Regions from separate parts of the Homo sapiens genome. Here regions 2, 3 and 4 are each linked to region 1. Evidence: promoter capture Hi-C in human tissues and cell types (Jung and others, 2019). All regions are on one chromosome and are shown on one strand. The core of a region is centred on a gene start or on the middle of the fragment in contact, and the rest is flanking DNA. Distances in the headings are between cores, read along the strand shown. Region 1 holds the start of GNAZ (G protein subunit alpha z). Region 2 holds the start of PRAME (PRAME nuclear receptor transcriptional regulator). Region 3 has its middle 23 kb from the start of MIR650. Region 4 has its middle 16 kb from the start of LINC01659.

Region 1 (6,643 bases), core at 4,103-6,602:
CCTCCGTGACTCACAGGGGCAGACCTCACAAAGGGACCTCTGTCCTGGCAGCTCTCCATCCCAGGGGCCAAGGGTCTCCTGAAAGGTTTGCTCTAACCACAACCACGGTCCCCCATGGCCATGAGAGGCCTGGCTGAGCCCTCGGGGACGGGGTGTGTTTCTGGTTGGAGGCTGCTAGAAGGAACACCCCCGGGCTTGACACTATGTGTAAGGCCCCTCCCTGCACTGTGGCTTTTAACAGTCTCGCTTCTTAGCACTTTTTGATGGATTCTCCAGGGACGTCTCTAAAAGAGAGTTATACCTTAATTTAGAAGCAAATAACTCAAAACTCTGTGATGTGGCAGCTTCCTTTGGAAAAGAGATGAACGCAAAGAAGCCATTGCTGTGTGAAGCTGTGGCCATGTAGGTCCAGGGCCTGCTGATGGGACCATCTAAACCTCAACCTCAAGATGTGCCTCCTGCTGCCTCTTGCCCAAGGGTCCACAGACCAAGGGGCAAGAAGCAAGACATTTAGTGAAGAATTGCAGCAGGCAATTGCCTGCTGCAGTTTTCACTTTGGGTTCCCTGGGCCATGGTGCCAAGGTGAAGCTCACAGGCTGGGTGTGACTGACTCCAGCGGCCCTGAAAGTCCAACGCAACCCACCCGCCCACTCAGGGAAGGGAGGAGAAATGCTGTGGGGACTGGGCAGCAGGCAGGTTGCGGGCCCACCCTCCAGGCCTTCCTTCTCCACAGGGGCCACTACATCCCCAATATTATCCTTGAGGTCCCTGTGACCAGCCAGCTTCCTGGGCACTCACTTGGGCATCCATACAGTTTTAATGCTCTGCTGTTGCTGTTCTGGAATGCATAATTTTAGTTTTACTTTTGTAGAGACAGGCTCTTACATGTTGCTCAGGCTGGTCTCAAACTCCTGACTTCAAGTGATCCTCCTACCTCAGTCTCCCATAGTATAGGATTACAGGTGTGCGCCATCATGTCAGGCCCTTAATAATTTTCAAATGGGGGCCCCCAAAATCATGTGGCCAGCTGTGCCTGCATTGCTCAGTCCCTGGGCATGCCCTGCCTGCTTGACACAGGGGACCTGCTCTCTGGGACCCGCTCTTCTCCAGCCTCCCGAGGCGCCACTGTGACTGTGCTTCCACCTCACTTGCCCGTCAATCCTCAATCTCTCTTTCTCGATGCTTCTCAACTCATCCTCCCCACAGTGGAGGCCCAGGAGCCCAGCTCAGCCTCTTCTGATCCTACCTACCCTTGATCCCTAAGTGACCTCACGTGGTCCCCGGCCTGCCACACACCTCAGTGCCAGGGGCTCCAGGTTGCCACCTCCAGCCTTGCTCTCCCTCTGGCCACATGTGCCCATCAATGGCTCTCCAGGTCTCAGACCCACCTCCTAATTCCCCACCTCTCCAGAATGGGTTTTTCTGTATCTTGCTTCTCAGCCAATACCAGCTCCATCTTTCTACTGGTTCAGACCAAAACTGCAGCTGTCCTTTAAAAGCTGCAGCTTTAAAAAAACAAATCTCCCACCTGCATTTCTCAGGGCCTCCAGAGCTCCCACCCCTGGGTCAGCAGCCTCTCTGCCTGGGATGTTGCAGTAGCCCCTCATGGCCCCCAGCCTTACCCCACCCTAGCCTATTTTCCCACCTCAGCAGAGAGATCTTTTCAAAGTGTAGATTAGCTCCTCCTGGGAGGGCAGCTCCAGTCTCTTCTCTGCTCCAACCCTGCCAAGGTCTTCCTGCCTCATTGGGGCCCACTGAGTCCTGCAGGACCTGGCCCTGACACCCCACCCACACTCCTGCACCAGGTTCCAGCCACTCTGGTGGGGCCTCCAGGGGCCAGGGAGTGTCTGCTCAGCGCCTTTGCACCTGCTGTCTCTCCCCTGCTCAGCCACACCACTCACCCAGCACTTCTGCATGGCACTGTGTCAGTCCCCCACCCCCATCTCGTGTCCCCCACCTTCTGCTTTAGTGTTCTCCACAGTGCAGCACTTAGTAACATGTGTTACTGTCAACCCCTGCCCGTCTGGTGTGAGCACTGTGAGTGGATGCTACGTCCCTGCTGTACCCCTGCACCTGGCACAGTGCCTGGCATGCAGCAGGCGCTGGTAAATGTTAGCTGAACAAATGAATGGATGAATCGCGTGAGGTTCTGCTCCTCCGGCTCAGTCCAGAGGGCTGATGTCTCCTCCTATGTGCTCTAGGATCTGTCAAGCGGTCCCTGTTGGTTCAATCCTGTGAAGCGCCTCCCCTGGCGGTGTTCGCACGAAAGGGCCAAAATGTGTGGCAGGGGCTGGTGTGGGGACAGGGCAGGGCACTCTTGGCTTTGGGTATGGATGAGGATAATGAGGTTCAGAGAAAAAGGGGCTGGACCTAGGATGGTGGGACCAGGACCTGACTCCAGGTCTTCTGCCACCTAGACTGGAATGCTCACCTCACCACCCCGGAGCCACAACAGTCTGGGTGCTCCCACGTCCCTCTTCATTCTGCCCAGGCCGCAGCATAGCCTCTGCTCTGGGATTCTGCCTGGGGCTGACCCTTGGCATCTGCACTGACGCCTCTGTTCATTTCGCTTTGTGCTCCTTCCAGCCAAGCACAGTGCTCACAGGTGCTCAGAGGCTTGGCTACCCCAGGTTTCCTTGCTGGAGGGTTCGGGAGAGCAGCATGCTGACCTGCCTCCTCCAGTGTGCCCGTGCACCTGCCATGGTCAGCAGCAGTGAGAGTGCCTTTGCCACCACACACCGTCTTAAGTATTCTGAGGCTAGCGTGGGACAGACAGCACAGGGCTGCCTTCCTTGCCTCCAGGGGAGGAAGCCGCACACATGTGTTCACACACAAGATGACTAAATTCAGCATTCCTGAATTGCTATATTCAGCATTCCTGTCCCACTGGCCTCTCTGCGGGGGCCCTGGGCAGCCCTTGTGAAGTCAATCCAGTTACCTGCAAATTCCTGGAATTGTTCTAGAAGCTCCTGAGGGCCAGACTGAGACCCCACCCATACTCCTGCACCAGGTTCTGGCCACTCTGGTGGGGCCTCCAGGTCTCTGAGGTTCCTCCTGAGATTCTAGAAAACAAAAGGACTGAGAGGCTGGGGACAGAGGGAAGAATCCATTCCCTGTGTCCCAAACCCACAGTCACATGCCAGGTCCCTGCAACAGTCCAGGCGACAGGCACAGAGCACAGCAGCTCACCCTGCTCAGCACAGACTGCACACCCCACGAGGGCAGGCCCTGTTCTCGCTGCATCAACCTGGGCCTTGGCCAAAGCCAAGTGTGTGTTGGGTGGGGAGGGTAGGCACACTACAAAGATGAGTAACAAACAGCCCCTTCAGAGGGAGAGCAAAAACATCCCCAGAAATGAGGGAGCTGACTTAGGGGGGAAAGTGACACCAATTTCCGAGGGGGAGAAATTATGTCTTATTCACCTCCTGTCTCAGAAAATCAACGTCAGTTAGAGGAACACACAGGAAGACTTTTAAACCAGATGCCAGCATCTCCTCATTCCTAGAGAATGAGGCTTGCTCAAGGCGCATATTTTATCCAAGCACCGCCAGGCCATCCACACCCCCACTGCACCCCGTAGATGGATGCTCCCAGGCTGCCACGATTACTGCTCTCAAACATCCACATCCCAGAGGCACAGAGTCACTAGCTAAGCATCATCCCCGAAACAGGCAACTCAATCCTAACAAGGGGGTTGCCTGGGTGGTTACCCAGTGCCCTGGCTGTGCCCGAGGGAGAAGTGCCTGGAAGCACAGTCTCAGACTGCAAGGAGCCTTCCCCAGTCTTTAAAGCTAGCTCTTCTCCAGGCCCACCCCAGCTCATGGGGTCATGGAACTGCTTCGCTTTTACAGATGAGGAAGCCGTGGTCTCCACCATAGCCACAGTTAACCAGCAGTGGGGTCATTCCACTTCCCAGCTCCCTCAGCCCCGTGCAGCCCCCACCGGCCTTTCCCGCCATACCTCCTCCTACTCCCCAGGCATGCTAAGTGCTCCCATCAGACCTAACTGCCCAAGTGCCTCGGTCTATTCTCTCCTCTCTGCCCACAATGCCCAGCTTAGCTGTGCCCATGTCCTTCAAGCTCCAGTTCAAATGTCATGTTGCCCACGAGCTCACCTGACCCCCCAGCCCAGGACACCACTCTGAGGTCCCTCCCGAGGCCCCTGCACCTGCACTCAAGCGGGGTTGGTCGAGTAGAGACGTTTTCCCCTATGCGGTGGTCAATCAGTCCTGGGAGGGCAGGCCCAGTCCACTCCCACCCGGTGCACCCCAGCGTCAAGCTCTGGGGGAGTGACCACTCAATAAATATTTGCTTAATTGAATTTGGCCAAGGAGCCTTCTCCAGAGAGCTCAATCCCCAGGGCAGGGAAATCACTTGGGCAGAAAGGAGCCGGTCAGGGGCTCAGCTGTCTCCCCAAGCAAGACAGACCTCTCTACCAGGCGGGTCCCTCCACCCCAACACGGACTACGCGGAACGCTGGTCTCGCTTGGCATCATCCTCTTGTCTCAGTTAACAGGAGCCCCCATTCTCGGCCTAGGCCGAATCCTGCCATCATCACCCAGGAAGGCTCAGCACCGCCCTAAAGGCAGAGCCCCCTCGGATCGCCCGCAGGATACGGAGCGCCAGCCCTGAGGCCCTCACTCCCCTCCCCCAAACACCCCCACCGCCTTTTAAGGGAAAAAATATTGAGCCGGGAACGTATTACAATCGCAGCAGGTCGATACTCATCTCTTCCTCTAAATGCCTGTGAGGAACCTGCTCGCTGCAAGAGCAGTGACCGAGAACTGCTAGCTGTCCGTCTGCGGGCCCAGGTCCTCGGGCCCAGGCCTCTGGGGCCCTCTCCTCGGTTTCAGGCAAGGCCCTGCATCGGCTCCGGCCGCCCCTCCCTGATCCTCCCCCTAGGGAGACCCGCCTCAGCGCCGCTCCCGCAGCTCGCCTGGCCCGCCCGGGCTCCGCATCAGCCGCTGCTTGGGGGCGCCCGGCGGCCCCGCGCGGCATCCCCGGCGCCCTCTGTCCACCCTCCCGGGTCCTCAACCGCCCCCTCCCGCGGGGTCATCGGCTTGGCGGCGCATCCCTCCCCCAGCACCTGCCCGACCAGAGGCCGCCCCCTGCCCACCTCGCAGGCGTCCCCGCCCTTGGTGTCCCCCACCCCTGAGGGGCATCCCTGACGCTGCGTCCTGGCGGATCCGGGGCACAAAGGCCTGGGAAGAGTCCCAAGTGGGGGCAAGGTGGATGCCCCGGCCGTGCCCCCGACCCCTGAGGCTCAGCGGCGCGCGGCCGGCCGCGGGTCGGCTCACTCACCTCCGGGCCGCAGCACAGAGCATCTGCCGAGCTGCTCCGGGCAGGGCGGGGCGGGGCGGGGCGGCGAGCACGGGGCCGCGGCGCCCTCGTTCCGTACGACGCGGGCAGCGGCGCCCACGCGGGGACGTGACCGGACCGCGGGCGGCGCACACGCTCCGGCCGGCCTGGTTCCCTCCGCCCGCCCTCCCGCGCCGCCCGCCGCCCGCCGCCCGCCGCCAGTCCGCGGGTCCGCCCGCCCCGCGCCGCGCCGCCGCCGGCAGGGGGCGGAGCCGCGAGCGCAGCCCGTTGCCAGGCCAACCGCGGGCGGGGGGGTGCCGCGCGCCCGCCGGGCACCACGCGCCGGGCACCTCCGCCCCGCCACGAGCGCCGGCCCTCTGTCCATTGGGCACAGGCAGCTGACGGACGGGCCAGTAGCCCAATGGGGACGGACAGGGGCGGGGTCGCAGCTCCGCGCGCGCCGCAGTCCCGCAAGAGCTCCCCGCGCCGGCGTTCCACCGACTCCGCTGCGCTGAGGCCTGGTAGCCGAGCCCCAGGGGCCACCTCTGGCAGCCCGGGAAACCAAGCCTGAGCCCAGCCATGGTCCTGGCCCTCTTTACTGCAGCCAGTCCCGGCTCGCCTTCTCTCCACTCGGGTTCAAACCCAGTTCGGCCTCTTGTGAGCTCTACGTCCTTGGGCAACCGACTGACCTCTCTCAGCCTTTCTGTTTGCAAAGTGGGGCTAGTGGCACCTGCTTTCCTGGATTGTCTCACCAATCCTTCAGAACGTGTGAAAGGCCTATGCAAACCCTAACGATTTACACCGGTGAGGTTTGTGCAGCGATGGGAGGGAGCATTAGTCATCTCTGCCGCCGCCCCCCGCCGCCACCGCCCAGTGTCTAGGGGCTCTTTGGCGTCCCTGGCAATCCTGGCACACGGAAGGGTGGCCTTGGGAGGGAAGGAAGGGAGAAGGACCGAGGAGCTGGCCCCCAGCCCAGACAAGCGTGAGAGAGCCAGTTCAGTTAAGGCCACTGATTGGCGCTTTTGGGAAGCTGGTGGAAAGCATCAGACCCTCAGCAAAACGCAGCTGAACCCAGGCTGCAAAATTCTGTTTTCAATTTCAAAGCCTATCTGTGGACCTCAGGGCCAGGAGTCCCTCAGTTCCATGCTTAAAAGACTCTCAAGCCAGAGGGCCAAGACATGAATGCTCCTGTCTCTCTTCTCCATCTTTGTAAATCTGAAGCTTTGTGTATCCTAGAGCATCCCTGACAAAGTGCAAATGCCTTCCCAGCTAACGCGTTCCTTATCACCTCACACCTTTGTAAGGTGTGGATCATGCCATTCTTTGAGCAGCAGCCCTGGACCTGA
Region 2 (6,668 bases), core at 2,225-4,724, 510 kb after region 1:
ATGAATTACTGATATCCCAGGAACCTTGTAACTCCTACTCCCCATTTCAGGCCTAGCAGAGCCCCAGGAATATGGCATCCGATTGTAAAGAACTCGAAGCAATGAATGAGTGACTGTTATGGTCATACACAATTTTACATGAATAGAATTACATTAGACAATCATTCACGTGATCTGCATTTTTTTTTCAAATATTGCAGACAGACATCATCAGTCATAAAAAAGAAGGGAATCTTGCCATTTGCAACAATACGAATGAACCTGGAGGAAATTATGTTAAGTGAAATAAGCCAGATGCAGAAAGACAAATACTGTACGAGCTAATAATATGTGGAATCTAAAAAGTGGAACTCTTTTGACATGGTTTGGTAATATAACAAATACAAAAAAAATTAAAGGAAAGGGAAAAAAGAAACACAAAAAGTGGAACTCATAGAGGCAGAGTAGAATGGTAGTTCCCAGGGGCTGTGGGTGGGAGGAATGAGAGATGTTGGTCAAAGGCTACAAAATTTTAGTTATAAGATGGTAAATCCTGAGACTCTAATATACAGCATAGTAACTATAGTTAATAATGCTATATTATTAATTGAAATTTGCTAACAGAGCACACACACATTGACTGCTGGGGTGAAAGATGTGTTAACTAATTTGATTAATCATCAAACAAGGTATATGTGGATCAATGTATATGAATTGTACACCTTGAATCCATACAATTTTTATTTGTCAATTATACCTCAAGAAACCTGGAAAAAAATCAAACATTACAGACATCTTATTGTATTTTCTGTGTCTTATCCAAAAAAAGCACCCGGAGCTCAGCAAAGCACTTGATGTTTGCCCTCACACTGTTCCTCTCCCATTCCAGTTGTCGACCAAAAGGAACCATCAGACAAAAAACACCTCCAAATTTGTTGAATTTATTCAGGAATTAGAATACAAAATTATACGCTGGGCATGGTGGCTCATGCCTGTAATCCCAGCACTTTGGGAAGTCGAGTTGGGAGCAACACTTGAGGCCTGGAGTTCAAGCCCAGCCTGGGAAACACAGTGAGACTCTCTCTACCAAAAAAAAAAAATTTTTAATAAAGTAAATACATAAATTAGCTGGGCATGGTGGTGCATGCCTGTTGTCTTAGCTACTCAGGAGGCTGAGGTGGGAGGACTGCTTGAGCCCGAGAGTTGGAGGCAGTGGTGAACTACGATTATGCACTACACTCCAGCCTGGGTGACAAAGCAAGACCCTGTCTCAAAAAATAAATAAATATAAAAATAAATATAAATTTACAAAAAAAAATTAAAAAAGAGAAAAAGCATTATAACCTAAGATGCTCAGCTATGGCAAGCCATATATGCATCTCAAGAGGGGAGGGCAAAGGGAAGGTTGTATTGGCAAAAAAAGAGATTTAAATAAGCTGCTTGCAAACAGTTCACCGGTTATGAAGACTCAAAACCACAGTTGGCATCAGTTCATTGGTGGAGACGCTGTGCCTAGGCAGGTGTTCTTTCAAAAGCATCTTATCTAAATTGTTGTGATTCCAAAACAGGAATGTCTTGCAGGGCTATTTCGAAAAGTCCCGAGACAGCCAACCCTTTTTAAAAATATAGATGGGGTCTTGCTATATCACTCAGGCTAGTCTTCAATTCCTGGCCTCAGGGGATCCTCCAACCTTGGCCTCCCAAAGTGCTGGGATTACAGGGGTGAGCCACCACACCCAGCTTCCTGAGACAGCTTTTATCTCAGCCATGTAAGCATGAGCCCTTCCCTTTCATACCCTCAGGGTTTTACTTTGGGTCAACAAATAGTGAGTTTATTTTGGTATGTGCAACTTTCAAACACCCATCGCCATAAAAGAAAGGACCAGCCTTGGCCAGGCACAGTGGCTGATGCCTGCAATCCCAGCACTTTGGGAGGCCGAGGTGGGCGGATCATGAGGTCAGGAGATCAAGACCATCCTGGCTAACACGGTGAAACCCTGTCTCTATTAAAAACAAAAAAATTAGCCAGGCATGGTAGCGGGCACCTGTAGTCCCAGCTACTTGGGAGGCTGAGGCGAGAGAATGGCATGAACCCGGGAGGCGGAGCTTGCAGTGAGCCGAGATCGCGCCACTGCACTCCAGCCTGGGCAAGAGCGAGACTCCGTCTCAAAAAAAAAAATAAATAAATAAAGGACCAGCCTCGACTGACAGTCGGCACTCCGCAGGCATCCTCCACAATCCTCTCTCCTCTCTGCCTCTTGCCCTACAACCTGGCCATGCCATGATTCCTCCCTACCTGTCCTCCTCTGTGGACTTCATGACCACGCTCTGTCCTATGAGGCTGGACCAGGGTCATGTTCACTCACTTCTCTCCCCTCCCTGCCATTTGTTCCACTCCCCAACTTGTTCTCCACGCATCGATCTCAATGGAGCAACAGCAATCAGATGATGAAAATAAATAATGGTGGCCAGTCTTCAAATGGATCCCCTTTTCAATCCCGCACTATCCATCTGCTGCCTTCTCATCAGCCCTCTGCCCCAGTTTCTTTCCCTTCTCAAACTGGACAAGCACCGTACTCCGTGAAGATGTGTGCAGCCTGTTCCCATGCCCTGAACACCATCCCTTCAAGCTCCTCTGGCTGCTCCCTGCTCAGGTCTCAGAAAAGGAGAGCTGGGCAACCCTCCCAGGGAGCCGCCCGCCTGTGTAACTTTCAGTACCAGCCTGTTTGCTTTCTTGAGATAATTAGCTACAACGGCCACTTTAAAACAATGGTCTTCTTATTTTGTTTTTTGTTTTCACCCTAAACTTTATAAAGTCAGAAATCGTAAGTCCTTGAGCATCCACAGCCACTCAAGGACGAACCTTTGCTGAATGCCTCAAGCAGAGAGGGGGAGGCTGAGTCTCTGTTTCGAAGGTGAAAACACAACGGTTTTTATCAGCCCTGTTTTATGCGACAATCCCAGGTCGAATCTGGATCAATGCAATGACTTCCTTTGCATGGACCTATGTTTTGTTCGTGCATTCATCTGTGCAGCTGGGAACCCGCAGCTCTGTTCACTGGCATGGGGATGCCTCGGGGAATGGCAGGGCAGAGCCACAAAAAGCCAGCCTCACCACGCGGCCTGTTGCTCTTAGCCACCATGCCCATCATAGCCTGTGGCAGGAGATGTTGGGGTCCCCCCCCCCGACCCCTTTCAGGAAAACAGAGTTTGTGGAGGCGGAGTACTTCCCAGGCCTGACTGATAAAACAATTCAAAAGACTCAAAGAGATTCCTCGCCTGTCCCGTCCCTTGAAGGGCCTTGAACACGGGGTCCTTCCGCTTGGCTCCTAGCCCGTCCCTCTCCCCTTACCAGGAAAGGATCCTCCCCATCTCTGCAGAAGCCTGACCATCCCCCTAGAGGGCCTGGGAGGAAGTGGGTTTTGCATACAGTCCCTGTTGACTCTAGTGCCCCCTGCTGGCCCCAGACGCGAGTTCCGGCGAGGCTTCAGGGTACAGCTCCCCCGCAGCCAGAAGCCGGGCCTGCAGCGCCTCAGCACCGCTCCGGGACACCCCACCCGCTTCCCAGGCGTGACCTGTCAACAGGTCTGTATTGGCGACAAAAGGAGCAGCCCTGAATGTAGGGAAAGCAGGGCGGAGTCCTCTGCAGGCTCGGGGGAGGGGAGGGGCGTGAATGCGTGGATTTCTGTGGAGAGTGGAAACACGGGGAGTCGAGGGGAGCATGCGCGGGCCTCAGAAAGTTCTGGGAAACCGACTCCCGGGAGCAGGGAGGAACGCGCGCTCCAGAGAGTAAGTTAATTGAATCCCGGGGGGTGGTCTCTTCAGCCCGGGGGGTTACAGAAGTAGGTAAATCCAGAGATTACCCAGCCAAGGCCAGGGGCATCTTTTCTAGACTTGCGGGGCGGGGTGGGGCGAGAACTTGAGCTCAGGGGACCCTGGAACCGGCCCCTGCACCCCGCATCCCACTGAAGAAAAGGGAGGTCGCCAGAAGCACAGACCCAGGACAGAGTCCAGACTTGGACGTCTCCGTGATCCCAGAACACCCCGTCCCACACTCCCAGTCAGCCCCCCGCCTCCCCACTGCCTCTCCATTCGCCCACCGCACCCCCTTTTTCCACCCTGCCCCCACCCTACTGTCTGGTGGGAAAGGCCGCAGCCATCACGTATTCACCCATCCCCACCCCTCACCCCCCACCTTCTGACTTTCTTTCCACATCCCCACCCCCTCCCCCACTCTCTGCCTCTTTTCCCTCCCCCTCCCCAACCCTTTGTTTTTCTTACACATCCCCACCCCTCCCCCAACCTCTGTCTTCTCTCATCCCCACCCCCACCCTGTTTCCCTTCCCCCATTCCCGCCCTGGCCCGCCTTCTGTCTCCCTTCCCCCATCCCCACCCCTCCCCCCCTTCTGTCTCCCTTCCCCCATCCCCACCCCTCCCCCGCCTTGTCTACCTTCCGCCATCCTCACCCCTCCCCCACCCTGTCTCCCTTCCCCCACCCCACCCCTCCCCCACCCTCTGTCTCCGTTCCTAATCCCCACGCCTCCACCACTCTTTGTTTCCCTTCCCCCATCCCGACCCCCCACCCCACCCTGTGTTCCTTCCTCCATCCCCCCCCACTGTCTTTCTTCTCGGTTCCCCACCCTGTCTCCCTTCCCGCATGCCCACCCCTCCCCCACCCTGTCTCCCTTCCCCCATGCCCACCCCTCCCCCACCCTGTCTCCCTTTCCCCATGCCCACCCCTCCCCCACCCTGTCTTCCTTCCCCCATGCCCACCCCTCCCCCACCCTGTCTTCCTTCCCCCATTCCTAACCCTCCTCCCGCCCCCCCTTCCCCACCCCCATCTCCCCTCCTTCCCCACCCCCATCTCCTCCCCACCCCCAGCCTCCTCTGCTCTCCAACTTCCTCTCCCCTTTTCCCCTCCTCCTGCTCCCTTCTCCTCTGCTCCTCCCCCCACTGCCCCTCCCCCACTGCCCCTCCTCCTCCCAGTCTTTGAAAACAAGCCCCTCTCGACTCTCTGGGCGACCTCACTGGATCTCGTGAGATTTTGCCCTGGAAGGACTGAGAAACGGGGATTGGTCAGACCAGGCTGCCCAGCCCCCCGGTCCCCACCGCCGCCCCCCCCGCCCCACGCAGCGGCTAGGGCGCTTAGCTGAGCCATTGTCTCGTTCTTTCCTTCCAGCAACTTCGCGGTGTGGTGAACTCTCTGAGGAAAAACGTAAGTTCGAGCCCTGATTCCTCCGCTTCCCCGCAGGGTGACCTTGGGCTTGTGCCCCCAGCACCACCCCTGTCCCGGGTCCCTGTTTTCTCTCTGGAAATGGGTTGAAGACCAAAGAAAATAATGTGCGCCACTTGGGTCACCCCGGGCCGCCTGCCCCGGAAAATTGGCCCCAGTTGAGGAGTTGTGGCTGTAAGGATGCCTTGAACCGAGGCGGCGGTGCTCGTGGTTGGAGCTCTCCAGGGTGGGTGCGCATTTGTAATGCGGTGGATGCTCTGGGACTCGGCCCCTCTGAAGGTGCTGGGGGTTGGGGACGGCCCAGGCAGTGGCGTAGGCGTCCTAGGAAGGCGGGAGCAGAGGCAGAAATGTCGCTGCAAGACCGTAGTCAGGGTCCTTGACCACAGGGGTCACTTGTGACCAACCACATGGTCTGTTGTTCCTCCTGCCCCCTGGTTCAGCCCAGGAAACACTGGTGCTCAGGTTTGGAGCCAGAGATTTGCACTGAAAGGGCGGGATTGAGTCGCCAGTTGTCAGTTTCCTCAGCAGTATTTGCGGAGGTTTTCACAGGAGGCCGTTGCTTCGTAAATATTATACATGTATTCTTCTTTTTGGAGCATTTTGATTATTACTCTCAGACGTGCGTGGCAACAAGTGACTGAGACCTAGAAATCCAAGCGTTGGAGGTCCTGAGGCCAGCCTAAGTCGCTTCAAAATGGAACGAAGGCGTTTGTGGGTAAGAAGGTCCCCTGAGCTGTCTGAGGTGCTCAGAGAAGCCCTGTTCCCCTCTGTCCTTGTCACTCGAGCCAGATGGGAGCTGCATCCTGAGGTCCCTCACAGTAGACGAAGAGGCAGGAGCCGCTTTTATTGTTTCTGGTCATTTCCACAAAAGAGCATTTCACTTCCCGTGCTGTCTTTGTATGAGAGTCAACCCTAGGGTCGGGCACGGTGGCTCATGCCTGTAATCCCAGCACTTTGGGAGGCTGAGGCGGGCGGATCACCAGGTCAGGAGATTGAGACCATTCCTGGCTAACACTGTGAAACCCCGCGTCTACTAAAAGTACAGAAAGTTAGCCGGGCGTGGTGGCATGCACCTGTAGTCCCAGCTACTCAAGTGGCTGAGGCAGGAGAATCGCTTGAACCCAGGAGGCGAAGGTTGCAGTAAGCCAAGATCATGCCACTGCACTCCAGCCTGGCGACAGAGCGAGACTCCGTCTCCAAAAATAAAAATTAACCCTAGGCCAGGCATGGTGGCTCATGCATGTAATCCCAATCCCAGTACCATGGGAGGCCGAGGTGGGCAGATCACCTGAGGTCAGGAGTTCGAGACTAGCCTGGCCAAAATGGTGAAATCCTGTCTTTACTAAAAATAGAAAAAAAATTAGCTGGGCGTGGTGGCCCACATCTGTAGTCCCAGCTACTTGGGAGGCTGAGACAGGAGCAGGAGAATCGCTTGAACCCAGGAGGTGGAGGTTGC
Region 3 (6,942 bases), core at 2,841-5,340, 270 kb after region 1:
GTCACTGTGGCTCACCCATCCTCACCATCAAACATGTGGCTCTCTCCACAGTGATACTCGGCCTCATCCTCAGATTGGAGGTTGAAGATAATTAAGTAGCATTCAGCCCCAGGGCTGGAGCCCAATAAGTGACTGGGGATCCTGTTCCCCTTGCTGTTGCTGCCATTACTCTTAACCTCCATTATACACTAGGGGGACCTCCTTGGTCTCTGTTGATACTATTCACTGGTGTAGGTGACCTTGGCTGAGGCTCACAGCCAGGCAGATGCAGACGGGGGCTGGGTCAGCACAGACAGAGCACAGAGACCTGGAAACATATAATTTCATGAATGATGCTGAATGCACAGGAGAACTGGAAAGAATGCCACTGAGGACCAGTGCTGGGGGGAAATAGCAGTGAAAGGGTTTCCCTGAATTCTCTGGATGCTCCAACCTGTGGAGAATATGAAGGGCAGGAGGTAGAAGGAGACACAGGCCGTGGTGGGAGGCACTTCCGAGAGCTCTGATCGAGGCTGCCCAGTGGAGCCTGGACACAACCAGCTCCTATCTTATCCTCTTCTTGAAGCTCAAGAAGGAAGGAGCATTGAATCCAAATCTGTTCTCTATTCCCAAGCGTGTCTGTCTGAGCTCATAGCTGAGCCCTGGAGCTGATGGCCTCAGGGTAGTCATTTCTCAAAGGCAGGAGAAGGGCCAAGTGGGTGTCAGGAGTGGAGAGTGGATTGTACTCAAAAAGACTGGACCTGAAAGGAAACATCAGTCACACCCTTTGCACGTGAGCTCTACTGGGGGACTTGGAGCTATTAGCATCCCCAAACAATACACCCACAGTGCCTCCTGCTGTCCACAGGAGGAATGCCATCCTCCATGTATCACTAGATTATGCAAAACAACTACTTATGAGACCTTAATATATTCAGAGTCTTTGGTGAGTGTTTTATAGGCACAACCATGACTGGATATTTATAATAACCCTTCCTCAGCCCTATGCTTATGGCATAACCTCTCCTCAAGTTTACTGATGACAGAACCAACATTGAAAGATTACACAATGACAGAAGTGAGTGGAGTCAAGATTCCATGCAGGAGATGCACCTCAGAGCCTGAACTTCAGCTTCTTCCTGCCCTGCTTCCTTTCTTCCCATGAGTCTCCTCCTCCCACCTCATCCCAGGACCCCGGACCCCTCTGATCACAACCCTCTCTTCTTTAATCAGGTGCACTGTCTTTGATGGGTTCTGTGGACAGAGGTAGGGACACTTCCTCTGTTCACCCCATGACAGATAACAAAAAAGCACATGTCAGCAGTGACACTGGGACATCCAGATGTCTGCTTGGCTCCTTGTGCCAGTCATATCCCCAGAAAAATTTGGGATCAGGATTTTATTTCTAAGAAGGTCAAGGCTGTTGAATTAGGACAGCTGTAACACTAGATACTGAAGTCTTTTAATTTAATAAACATAATTGACAAGAAAGTATTCCTTAATTAATATTCTAAGTATATGTATTAGTTTTCAGACCTAGGACTGTTGAGGCTGTGATGAAAGTAATTCAATCACAACATGATGTTGTATTATAAATAGAAAAGACGTGTGAAGTCCTGCGATGATCTCGGAGACAGACAGAAGTCTCTATGTGCTGATTTCCTGGAGTTTGGTCTAAAGAGACAACTGAGATAAGATGAGGCCACAGGTCACCAATACGCCTGCTCCTGTACCTGGCTGAGCACATCACTCGCAGTTCCTCCACACGCTTACCAACCTAAGAATCCACTCCTCCTGTCACTGGGCATCTCAGGGTCTCCTCCCAGGACCCTGCCGGCCACTCATGCAGGCCAGTTCCTTTTCTTGTGGGTCCTGATGCAGCATTGGATGTAACTTGCTAAGACTATCCTGGGAGATGGACACATCACCAGAATGTGTTCCAGGAGAACTACAGCAAAACCACTTTGTCTTGTCCAGATTCGCTGTGATGCACATTACTCTCCCAGTTGCATCTCTAGAACTGGCCTTGTTTGTAAATTCCTGATTCTGGGAAGAAGCACCCAGTTCTGCAGAAACTGTCAAGGTGATCTGCCCAAAGTGAACAATCAGTTTGTGACCTGTGACCGTGCACAGTGGGCAGTGTGGAGGTTGAGATGGGCATGGGGGGACTGCCAGTCAATAGGGCAGGTCTTGTGCCACTGAGGGGAGGAGACCCTGGGGAGAGAGAGCAGGGGCATCTCCCACTGTTTTCCTGTAAGTCAGTCCACTGAGGCACAAAAGCGAGTTGAATAAGATCTTAAGATGCAAAGACCACAGCAGAGCTGGGGCTCAGGACAGTCAGGACCTGCAGCTTTAGGAGAAAAGCTGATAAGCCTAGTGTCCCAGGGAGACTGTCAGGGAGGCAGCTGCATTTAGCCCCACCCACTGGAGAAAGATTCTTGATTCCATGAATCAAGAATTTCCAGCCTGGCTGGGAGCCCATGGAAGCAACTCTTATCCATGTGTCAGGGATTTGCTCACTCTGGTGATGGCCAGAGAGCATGGGTGGATCCTGGATATTCAGGGAATATTGACAGCTGGCCCATGACAGAGACAATGTTACAAATTTACATTGTAGGCTCCCCCCCGCCGAATTGATATTGAAGTCCTCAGCCCCAGAACCTCAAAATGGGATCTTATATGGGAATGGGGTGGTTACAGATGTAATGGGTTAACATGACATCATACTGAAGTAGAGTGGGCTCCCAATCCAACAGGAGCGGTGTTGTTATAAAAGGGGGAAATGGCTGAATGCAGTGGCTCAGGCTTGTAATCCCAGCACTTTGGGAGGCTGAGGCAGGTGGATCACCTGAGGTCAGGAATTCGAGACCAACCTGGCCAACCTGATGAAACCCCATCTTTACTAAAAATATGAAAATTAGCTGAAGGTGGTGGCAGGCATCTGTAATCCCAGCTACTTGGGAGGCTGAGGCAGGAGAATCACTTGAACCTGGGAGGCAGAGGTTGCAGTGAGCCAAGGTCATGCCACTGCACTCCAGCCTGGGCGACAGAGCGAGATTCGATCTCAAAACAAAACAACAACAGCAAAAAACAAACAAACAAAAAACCGAGGAAACATGGTCAGAGACACACATAGGGAAAATGCCATATGAACATGGAGGCAGAGATTGGGGTGTTTGTCTGTAATTCAGGGAACAGCACATCCTTCCAGAAGCACCTGAAGCCAGGGAGATGCACAGAACAGGCCCTCGCTCAGCCTCAGAAGAAACCAACCCTGCCAACACCTTGATCTCAGATTCTAACATCACCTACAGATTAGTGGAGAAGACATTTCTTTTCTCTGAGCATCCAGTCTGTGCTACTTTATTATGGTAACCCTGGCAAAATAACACAGACGCCCCGAGGAATGCTGTGTTCAGAGAATCCCCTGTAGGGCTGGGCTCTTTGCAGATGCTTTGGTCTCTATCATCACAATCCTTTGGGGAGAGGCCTCCCTGTCCTGTGTTTTCCTCCCGTACAGTGCCCGAATTTCCTCTCAAGGAGCCTGTCCCAGCCCCACAGGCAGCAAATAGTGTCTCCTGTGACCTTAGACACCTCCCTTCCATGCCTGCCCCCTCGGGGCCCTGGCAGGATTTCTGATCAGACTCACAGGCCTCTCTCAAGGTTGTGGCTGTCAGCTGAGGAATGCGGCCCTGGGCAGGGAGGGATGGCCCAGGACCATGGGGCCAGAAAGCCTTCAACAGCCTTCAGATGAGCTTAGCAGCCTCTCCCCACCTGGCTGGCTACACCTCCTCCTCATGGATGAAGTTGCAATCCTTGGTTCTACAAACTCCCCCACTTTCCTCCCTGGCTGACTTGCCTGAAAACAGCTTCTGAGACATGGGGGGGAGTTGGCAGGAGAACACCTGGGGATGCTTGCCTCAGCTCCTGGGCCTCTATTTTAAATCATTTTAATCTCTCTTATTTCGAACAATCTAAAACCCTCGGCACTGCCTTTCCTCCATCTGAGGTCTAATTTTCATGAGCAAGGTCAGTAATAATTGCTGTCCACTAAGGAGCACTTGAATATGTTACGCCCTGTATTGAGCACTTTATGAATATGACTCAATTACATCCCTGCAGCTTTGTTAGGAAAAAAAGCTTGCTTTCTCTCTCCCAGTGATCTCTGCACAGACCGGCTTCCCTTCACCTTCTATCATGAGTGGAGACAGCCTGAGGCCCTCACTAGACGCAGATACCCAATCTTGATCTTTCCAGCCATCAGAAGCATGACCCCAATAAACCCTTTTTTTTCTTTACAAACTATCCAGCTTCAGGTATTCCTTTATAGCAACACAAAAGGTACTAAGACACCAGGAGGGGAGGGAGAGTTCACCTGTGCTTCTCAGGTTTCTTCATTAGGTGAGTCTTACCTGTGCCTGCGTGAGGAGGGTGAATAGGAGCTAAGCCACTCAAAATGTCCTTGGAGGACCAGCAGCATCAGCCTCACCTGGAAGCTGCTAGACATGGAGAATCTGGGGCCATACCCAGATGTGCTGAGGGCACAGCTGTATCTTAACCAGAATCCTCAGGGGATTTGTGTGCCCAATGAAATTCCAGAAGCTGTGGTTTAAACCACAATGGAAAGTCTCACTTTCTCTGCTTTTGACAACACACCTTTGTCTTCTACAAGCCCTTCTAAGAACACCTGGGTTTGGTGCTTAACTGCCCTGGTCTCATCAAACTGAGCTTGATTCCAGTGCTGGACTCTCTAATGATGTGCAAGAAATGTTTTAAGAGCAGACAATTTTAAAATCCACATGAGTGGTATGCTGGGAAAGGGACAAGATCCCAATGAGATATTCAGAGAGAAATAGATGGTTCATATCTTGTTCTCACTCAGCTCCCATTAGTATGGAATTTCCTTATTTCTCAGACATATGATCTCTGTGTTTCAGCCTCCGTCTGTTTTTCTCTTTGACTGGAACGTTTCCTGTGTGTGACCTCACTGCTCACACAATACCTGCCTAAATTCTAATCATCTGGAGTCAGATACCTGTACTCCAGACTTGTCAAGGAAGAGGTTTCTGGCCACCAGAATATTTGAAAATACAAAATTGTAACCTTTTAGCATTTATCAGTAAGTAACCGAAGAGTTGGGTATGGGATATTCAGATATTTTGCATGGAACAACATCCCCTCTAACTTCTGTACCACAAATCTTATCATGCGTGATGCTCTAACAAGACTAGAAAAAACAACCAACAAAAATGTTTCCTTGAAAGAAAACATTTGATCTGACTGTTGAGACAGTCATGTGATTTTTTCTTCTATTTTCTCTTCATCGTCACGGGTGTTTGTTAGGTTTTTTCTTGAGACGGAGTCTCGCTCTGTCGCCCAGGCTGGAGTGCAGTGGTGCGATCTTGGCTCACTGCAAGCTCCACCTCCCGGGTTCATGCCATTCTTCTGCCTCAGCCTCCCAAGTAGCTGGGACTACAGGTGCCCACCACCATGCCCAGCTAATTTTTTGTATTTTTAGTAGAGATGGGGTTTCACCATGTTAGCCAGGATGGTCTCGATCTCCTGACCACTTGATCCGCCCGCCTCGGCCTCCCAAACTGCTGGGATTACAGGCGTGAGCCACCGCGCCTAGCCTTGTTATGTTTTGATGATAGTCATTCCAGCAGCGGTGAGATGATATCTCATTTGGGTTTTAGTTAGCATTTCCCTGATTATTAGTCACCTTAAGCATTTTTTCACATACCTGTTTGCCATTTGTATGTCTTCTTTAGAGAAAAGTCTATTCAGGTCCTTTGCCCACTTTTTTTTTTTTTAATGCTAATCAGTTATTTTAGAGCCTTGTCCTCTATTCTTACACTGGATATTATGCCTTTTCAGATGAACAGGATATTAGGACCTATTCACATGAATACTTTCTCCCATTCTAAGGGTGTCTTCAATCTGTTGTTTGCTTTGCAGAAGCATTTTAGTTGAATAAACTCCCATTTGTCTATTTTTATTTTTGTTGTCTGTTCTTTTGAAGTCTTAGTCATAAAAATTTTTGTGTATCCCAAGGTCCTGAAGAATTTTATCTATGTTCCCTTCTAGTTGTTTTATAGCTTCAGGTCTTATCCTTAGGTTTGTAATCCTTGTTGGGCTGATTTTTTATTTGGAGAGAGATGGGTCCAGTTTCATTGTTCTGCATGTGGATGTCCACTTTTCTCAGCACTGCCTGGAAGGAGAAATGTCCAGATATGCAATTTTATACTGATTCATAGGCTGTAGCCAATGGTTTGGTTGGATGATCAGGGACTTGGAAGAAGCATGATTGGAAAATTGATGACAAAGAAATTTGGGGAAGAGCTATGTGGATGGATCCCTCTGAGTGATCAAAAACTGTGAAGATATTTGTATCCCATGCGAGTGCTCACCAATGGGTGACCTCAGCAGAGAAGGAGTTTAATAATCAAGTAAATAGGATAATCAAGTAAATCAGTGATAGAATCTGCCAGGCTGATATAAAAATTATTAACCCAGGCTAATAAAAATTTGCATTCGCAGAAGTGAGACACCAGAAATGAGTGTGCAGAGGAAAGACCATGTGAGGACACAGCAAGGAGGCAGCAACCTGCAAGCCAAGGAGAGAGGCCTCAGGGGAAACCAAACCTATAAACACCTTTATCTTGGCTCTCCAGCTTCAGAACTGTGAGAAAATAAGTGTCTACTCTTAGGCCAGCAGGTCTTTGGCATCTGCGGGATTCCTCAAAGATCTGTTTGGGGAAAACATGTAACCTCCCAATACTAGTTTTCTAGTAAAGATCGGGCCTTGAGCATAGGGCTTTGCATCATCCTATTCCGTATTATGAAAGTCTTCTTGAGGTCCCGCTTGTAAAACAATAACCAATGCATCTGGCGTATATTAAGGGCTTATGCGTAGTCATTCTGAGTGATTTGGTGATTTATGGGAAATGGCATTCCTTCCAT
Region 4 (7,355 bases), core at 4,198-6,697, 350 kb before region 1:
GATGGGAGCAGTCCTGTGCATGGAGGCGCCTCATCCATGATTTGGGCATTAGATTGTCCATGCTGCTTCTGGGGCTCCTTTCTAACCGTAGGACCACGGTGCTGTGTCTACCACGGCCTCGGAGCTGGTTGGAGCCTTGTAATAATGTCATCAGCCAGCACGGTAGCAAGCCCCCCATTCCTCCATCTTCCTGAAGTATTTCTTTGTCATGTGCTGTATTTGGAAGCTGATGTATTGTGGGAAAAGGCCTAATAGGACTTCTTACTACTGGATATGATGAGTGAGATACCGTTTTGCTTGGGTTTTAACCTTTTATTTTCTAAGACCTTTGGATCCGTTTGATCAGGTCCATTCAAATAGAAATTACTTACATCTTCTAGAAATGAGTTAAACACCTGGCTTCTGCTCCCTGCTATATTAATGGAGCTGACTTGCTAACTTGAAGAACACTTTTTTTTTTTTTTTTTTTGAGACGGTGTCTCGCTCTGTCGCCCAGGCTGGAGTCCAGTGGCTAGATCTCGGCTCACTGCAACCTCCACCTGCCAGGTTCAAGCAATTCTTCTGCCTCAGCCTCCCAAGTACCTGGGACTACAGGCACGCACCACCATGCCCGGCTAATTTTTTGTATTTTCAGTAGAGACGGGGTTTCACTGTGTTGGCCAGGCTGGCCTCGAACTCCTGACCTTGTGATCTGCCCACCTCAACCTCCCAAAGTGCTGGGATTACAGGTGTGAGCCACTGCACCTGGCCCCGAAGGACACTTTTACATGCTGCTAGTGACAGGTTCCCTCTGTGCATGACCACCAGCCCAGGGGAAGGGTTCATGGCTTAAAGGTATCTCTTACCCTTCAAGCAAACTTGATGTATGGAAATGTGGATTTACCTTCAAGATAAACTAGTGTGTATCTGTACTTCTTGGCTTGAAATTAAATTCTTCACAGTAAAGGAATTTTGCAACAGAATTCCTTCTATAGGAATTTAAACAGTTACCTTGCTATAGACAACATTTTAGGCAGTCTGATATCCCACCATTGGTGGGAATGACTGCCTGTCACATTAACCTGCCTGCCCCTCTTTGTCCCCCTACAGCACTTATACTCATGCGGGCTCAGAGGCACAGGTGCTCCTGGCTCTGCCTACAGCCTCCTAGGCCTGTCATCTGGGCCTGTTGGTGCAGTACATGGATCTAGGTGCTGTCACGGACTGTCAGTTGTGGCGTGTCCTGGCAGGGCCTGGCTGGCCCGACCTCTGCTCATGCAGTATTCATCTGCACACCAGGAGCCGTCTGGGCCATCTCTGGTGTGCTGCCCCACTCAGTTCTGTGTGCAGTTGCTTTCCTTTCTTGCTTGTCTCCAGGCCATTTTTGTAAGTTTTTATGAGGTCCAAATGCTTAGGCATAGGCAGTAGGCAGGAAAATCCAGCAGGGCATGTAGATCATTCCTAGTAGTAAAAGAGGTCAAGGGGTTTGGCTAAAAACCTCACTTATATTGGGATATGGGAAAAGTGGGAGGGAACTGATTTCTCAGGAGTCCGCTTCATAATATGTGTCATGGCATGATTGCCTTCAATCCTCATGACAGTCTTAGAAAGTTACCCATATGAGGCCCACTTGAAAGATGAGGCGCAGTGAGGTTAGATGACTTGCCTGAGATCTCTCACCTGGTAAATGGCGGAGCTAAATCAGAGTAAGACACTCAAACTGCGTTGTGGTTAAGAGCTTGGACTCTGGAACCAGACTGTGCTGTACTATACCGGTTACTAGAGTGTGTGACCGGGAGTGTGTTCCTTATCCCCCCCGAGACTCAGTTTCCTCATCTGTGCAATGAAGGGCGTAACAGTCCTCCTAACCTTGTATGGTCGTAAGCATTTAGAATCTTCCCAGGCATGTGGTAAGCACCCAGTGAGCACCCCACACATCAGCTGGTACTGTCACTGACTAGTGCTCATGAAACTTGGAATGGAATTCTGAGGCTTGGGGCTTCCTGTCATCCAGAGACAGTCTTCAGGGGAGGATGCTGGGTCCAGACTGTCCAGTGAGTCAGCACAGGTTTCTTTGCAGTGTTTGGATGGGTGAGAATGAACAGTACCACCTCCAAGGGGGAGTTCTTTCCTATCTTGCTGGTCCCCTCCTCAACCCACTTGCTCCCGCTCTCTAACTGCCTTTGTCATCAGTATGAAAACATCTGCAAAAGCCTGCTCTCTAGCTCACTCCTGATCCCCTGGGGCTTTGCATTTTTTTTTATTAGCAATTCTTTAAACCTAAATAACCTGAAATAACTTATTTATTAAAGTTGTATCCTTTGGTCCCTTCCTCCACGTGTTGTGTTGTCCTGGGTTTTAGGGCAGGGGCGGCTTCATGGAAGTATACTACGACCGTGTCTCTGCTCATGACAAACCTGCCTCAGGAGAGCCAGGGTAATATACACAACAGTTACGGGGAAGAAAAGGGATGAAACACCCAGATGGCATAGACAGTGTGATTGGGGAAAACAAGTGTGCTGTTCTTAAAAATCTATTATATGCCAAGTGTCGGTTCAGAAGCTTTATATGCGTTGTCAGCCCTGCAAGTTAGGGGATACTGAGTCATTCCCTCTTTACGATGAGAACCCAGAGACAGAAGCATCTTGTGCAAGGGCACTCGGCACATGGGTGAGAGGAGCTGGGGGTTTGAACCTGCGACCCTATTGACTTCTGTGGGCCTAGGGAGGAAATGCAATTTGAACTGTGCCCAGGCCATGGTCGGATTGTCTTAAGTGAGATGTGGGGGTGCTGGGGTGAGCGCAGGCTCAGAGTTGAGCGTGAGCAGCATGTATTCAGGGGCAGCAAGGAGGCCAGCCTGGCCAGGCTGGGGTTGCGTTCAGTGTTGATGAGCTGTTGTACTGGGTTCTGTATGGGTGATGGGAGATAAGTAAGATGTGTTCCTTGCCCTCTGGGATCTTGCTGCAGCTGGCGAGACAGACGCACAAATAGATGATTTCAGTGCTGTGTGGTAAGAGCTGTGATGAGGGTAAGTATAGGGAGCTGTGGGAGCAGAGCAGAGGGAGCCGGGAGCATTCCCAGAGCCTTGCCCTGACTGCAAGGGCAAGGTAAGCAGCGGCAGGCTTAGCGGTGGAAGGCAGGAAGGGCTTCCTGACAGGCAGAGAACAGCATGAGCAAAGGCATGTCCTTGAGGGCTTTTCTTGTTTATTCTCCTGGTCGAATGGATGTCAGGGTACAGTGTGGGCTTTATGGGCATCAGGGAACCTGTCGGGGGTTTGAACACAGAGGGACGGTGGAAGTCGAGTTTTAGGTCAGTTAATCTTGTGGAGGTGGGAGAACTGAGTCAAGCAAGATCAGCTGGGGAGGAGTCAGCAAACTTTTTTCTGTAAAAGGCCAGAAGGTAAATGTTTTAGATTCTGCGGAGCTGTTTGGACTCCGTGGCTGCCCCCCTATGCCTGGCCAATTTTTCTTTTATTTTTAGTAGAGATGGGGTCTCTCTGTGTTGCCCAGGCTGGCCTCGAACTCCTAGTCTCAATGATTCTCCTGCCTCAGCCTCCCAAAGCATTGAAATTACAGATGTGAGCCACCACGCCCAGTTGAAAATGGTTCTTCCAGGATGGATTTTTTTGTATGCTTATTCTGGAAAATAAAATGGAATTAAATTGGTGTAATCTACTTTGGAAATAAATGGGAGGAAAGAGGTGTCCTACCATTTCTGATGTAGGACAAAAAGGCATTTTCTTTTGGCTACTTTGAAGACTGAAACTAGAAATAGGGAAGTGTCTGATGCATATTTCTTAATTCCTTATGAGTAGCCTGCATAGTTCAAGGGGAACTATGGGAAAGAAATCTGGGCATTCTGCGTGTGATGAGACAGGAGTAGAGGGATGCATTTTTCTCTGTGTGAAGTGGGTGACTCACTGCGTTTAGCTAAATTCTCTGTGACTTAAGTAAATGCTCAGTCTTTGCCTTAAGCCTACTTAGATGGGATTGGGACCCTGTACTGTTCGGTCATTACTTACCTTTTTTTTTTCTTTTTTCTTTTTCTTTTCTTTCTTTCTTTTTTTTTTTTTTTGAGACAGAGTCTCGCTCTGTTGCCCAGGTTTGAGTGCAGTGGCACCATCTTGTCTCACTGCAACCTCTGCCTCCCAGGTTCAAGCAATTCTCTTGCCTTAGCCTCCCCAGTAGCTGGGACTACAGGCGTGTGCCACCATGTCTGGCTAATTTTTGTATTTTTAGTAGAGACAGAATTTCACCATCTTGGCCAGGCTGGTCTTGAACTCCTGACCTCAGGTGATCTGCCTACCTTGGCCTCTCAAAGTGCTGGGATTACAGGCATGAGCCACCACGCCCAGCCCGGTCTTTACTCACCTCTTGAGAGTCATTCTTGAGGCTGGGCACGGTGCTCACGCCTGTAATCCCAGCACTTTGAGAGGCCGAGGTGGGTGGTTTTGCCATTTGTCAAGTAGGGTGGAATTGGCTGCCTGCCAGTTTAAAGGGTCCTACTGGGAATAAAATTTGAATATAGAATTGGGCAGGCATGCTTTGAAAATACAGAATACAAGTGCCCTTTACTTACTGCTGCTTCCCCGCCCCAGGCAGAGGCTACTGCTCACCACTAGTGTAGGAGGACCAGTGACAGAGGTGTCAGAAGCTTCCCTGGCAGGACCTGCTCATCCTCCTGGACCTTGTAGTTTTGTGGAATCCACAAGGCAAGGCAGACAGATCCAGCAAACATCAGCTTGAAAGTACCAGGGACAAGCAGAGGGAGTAGAGGTCATGGGCTCTGTTCTCTAAGTTCACTGTTCACTTTGGAAGTCAAGGTGAGTACTGAAAGAGCAGCACGGCCCACCAGGGAGGCAGGGAATTGGGCACGCAGCACGCTCGGGCATTCTGCTGCACAAAAGGCAGGGGCTGTCCCCTCCCTGGCCGGACCTTCCTCCCATGCTCCAGGCACACCCTGCCTCAGGACTGTGGGACAGACTCCCCCTCCCTGAAACACTCTTTCCTGCAATATTGCATGCAGACTCCCTCAACCCTTGCATTGCATGCCTTTGCTCAGATGTCAGCTCCTCTGGGAATCCTCATGCCTCCCAGTTTAAAATGTCAGTGTGTCTCCTTCCCTCCGTGCTCCGGATTCCCTTTACTCTGCTTTACTCTCCATTTTTCCGGGGCACTCACCCTCTAGCATGCTGTGTTGCTCACTCATGCTTACTGAGAGGTGGAGGGCCTGGGCTCTGGAGCCAGGCTGCCTGGGGTTGAGTTGTGGCTTCACCACTTGCTACTCGTGTGGCTTTGGGTGGATTGTTTAACCCCTTTGCCTTGGTTTCCTTATTTATATGAACAATACCTAACTCAGAATTTTCATGAGGATCAAATGAATTTGTATTTATAAAATGCGTAGCATAACACCTGCCATGGAGTCAGTGCTATGTTATGTAAGTGTTTAATAAATACAGCTTCTGTTGTCCGTCTTCTTCCACAAAAATGGAAGCTTCATGAAGTCAGAAACCCTGTTTGTTTTGTTCTCTGATGGATTCCTAAGCGTTTTGAGCAGGACCTGGGGCAAAGCAGGCCATCTTTGCTCACCAAGTGAGTGACTGGGTTGGAGGAGGGTGTGGTCTGGGACGGTGTCAGGGAGTAGTGAGGTGTGGGTCAGTGCTGTGGACGGGTCTTCTCTGGGTCAGCTGGCTGAAGAGGCCGAAGCTGCTGTGTGCCAGTGTGTTTGCATACAGTCCGGGGGAGTGGGAGGGATGGTGCTGGGCTGGGGCGGAGGGGCTGGCTGCATTTGGAGAGTGCTGGGCCGAGTCCTACTGCAAGAGGAGAGAGAGGGTCTGGCTGTCAAGAGCAGTAAGATGCCTACAGGGCCCCGTATTTCCAAGCGCTCTTCCGTCCACCTCCTATCCTGGCCTGACCCCGCTTCACTTGGGAGAGCAGAGGATACCTTGTGCGTTCAGTGGGGAGGGCACGTCCACAGAGGCCTTGGCGAGGCTGCCTGCGTTGGGGAGGAACCTGGGCCCAGGTGCTCCAGGCTGTGGCTGGAGCAGGTGGAGCACAGCCAGCCGGGCTACACAGACCAGTCCCTGCCCACGGGCCTTCCCCCTCCCACCTACGGGCCACCCGTCTGCCGCCTTGCATCTTGCACCCTCCTGCCATGGACAGTGAGCCAGCCTGGCAGTGCCCTGCTGTGCTAACCAGGACCAGGAGGCCCGGGCCATCCTCCCTGACCACCTCACGGGGTCAGAGGACTGCACAAGAAATGGGTGCAGAGGCCGGCGCGGTGGCTTCGCCTGTGGTCCCAGCTACGAGAACAAGAGATCCACCTCAGGTGGTGTTCTCGGCCCGGGGCGACGGAGGGCGTCCAGCACCCATAGCGGGTGTCAGCCTTGGAGTTCCCAGCGGCCACCGCCAGGCACGGTGCAACCCAGCAGGAGAAGGGGTACTTGGGACATTTTTACATGCAGTCCCTGCGACTTCCGTTCCTCACCAGGGACGGCTGCCAGGAAGGGGACCGACTCCCCTCGGGACTCCCGGTCTGTACCAGCAGGGCCCAAGCTCCAGAGGGGTGGGGACCTTTCCCAGGGGCGCGGAGGCCGGGGTGCCCCTCCAGGACCTCCTTGGGCTGCGCCAGCAGCTCCAGGGCTCCGAGCGGTGGTAGATCTGGAAAACAGACCACAAAAGGCGTTGCAGAAACATGGATGTGACACTTTTAATTCCATTTAATTCCTCCACTCCAAAGAATGCAGGTCTTTCTAAATCATAAAACAAAGCCCAGAAGCCATCAAAGAAATAGCCTGACCACATAAAGTTCAAACAATTTATCTTTGCCTACTGCATGACCGAGTCGAATGACAACAAACAGGTGTGGGGGCGCATTTGTGCAAATATATTTGTGATGAGAATATCGTTCTCAGGCAAGTGTGGTGGCTCCCACCTGTAACCCTAGTGCTTTAGGAGGAGGCAGAAGGATCGCTTGAGGCCAGGAGTTTTAGGCAACATACTGAGACTCCATCTCCACAAAAACACACACACAAAACAACAAAATGGATGTTGCATTACTTACTATAATAACAAAAAAGGAAGAAGAAACCATAGGCATTGAGAGGGGCCTAGTTCAATAAGTCCCAGTGCATCCAAACAATGAAATACCATGAATTTGTGGGTTTTTTAAAATAAGGTAAATGTTGATGACAAACTGTTCAATGAAATGCACTTCACCTCGCTCATACAAACATTAACTGAAAATGGGTCACTTGCATGTTAAACATAAAACTATAAAACTTTAGGGGAGAAATTCCAAGAGAAAAAATGGAGCCCTACAACTAGGTAGAGATTTGAGACTTGACACCAAAAGCATGACCCATACAAATATGGAT

The links. Contacts are between HindIII fragments. The study calls those that stand out against the background at their distance.
Region 2: the fragment with the promoter of PRAME here is called in contact with the fragment with the promoter of GNAZ in region 1 in 2 of the 25 tissues and cell types used here (H1 embryonic stem cells and lymphoblastoid cells).
Region 3: a fragment that was not itself captured here is called in contact with the fragment with the promoter of GNAZ in region 1 in 1 of the 25 tissues and cell types used here (lymphoblastoid cells).
Region 4: a fragment that was not itself captured here is called in contact with the fragment with the promoter of GNAZ in region 1 in 2 of the 25 tissues and cell types used here (IMR-90 fibroblasts and lymphoblastoid cells).

Annotation. Positions count from the first base shown.
Region 1 is chr22:23,069,228-23,075,870 of GRCh38, reverse strand. It overlaps GNAZ (G protein subunit alpha z), which reads right to left and starts at 5,352. Exons shown (of 3, transcript NM_002073.4): 1 at 5,301-5,352. All of the region lies in intron 4 of RSPH14 (radial spoke head 14 homolog), which reads left to right. RefSeq lists enhancers at 2,889-3,770, 3,771-4,651 and silencers at 5,258-5,397, 5,538-5,677. The HindIII fragment of the contact is 23,611 bases long and covers 1-6,643 here.
Region 2 is chr22:22,556,071-22,562,738 of GRCh38, reverse strand. PRAME (PRAME nuclear receptor transcriptional regulator) reads left to right here and starts at 3,474. Exons shown (of 6, transcript NM_206956.3): 1 at 3,474-3,768; 2 at 5,159-5,194; 3 at 5,830-5,927. The coding sequence starts at 5,907. LL22NC03-63E9.3 (a long non-coding RNA gene) reads right to left here and starts at 3,396. Exons shown (of 3, transcript NR_027426.2): 1 at 3,332-3,396. It also overlaps IGL. RefSeq lists an enhancer at 3,263-3,557. The HindIII fragment of the contact is 17,569 bases long and covers 1-6,668 here.
Region 3 is chr22:22,796,430-22,803,371 of GRCh38, reverse strand. It overlaps IGL. Among named protein-coding and RNA genes, the nearest start is that of MIR650, 23 kb to the left of the region's middle. The HindIII fragment of the contact is 4,650 bases long and covers 1,766-6,415 here.
Region 4 is chr22:23,413,994-23,421,348 of GRCh38, reverse strand. No RefSeq gene overlaps it. Among named protein-coding and RNA genes, the nearest start is that of LINC01659, 16 kb to the left of the region's middle. RefSeq lists an enhancer at 4,375-5,009. The HindIII fragment of the contact is 3,719 bases long and covers 3,588-7,306 here.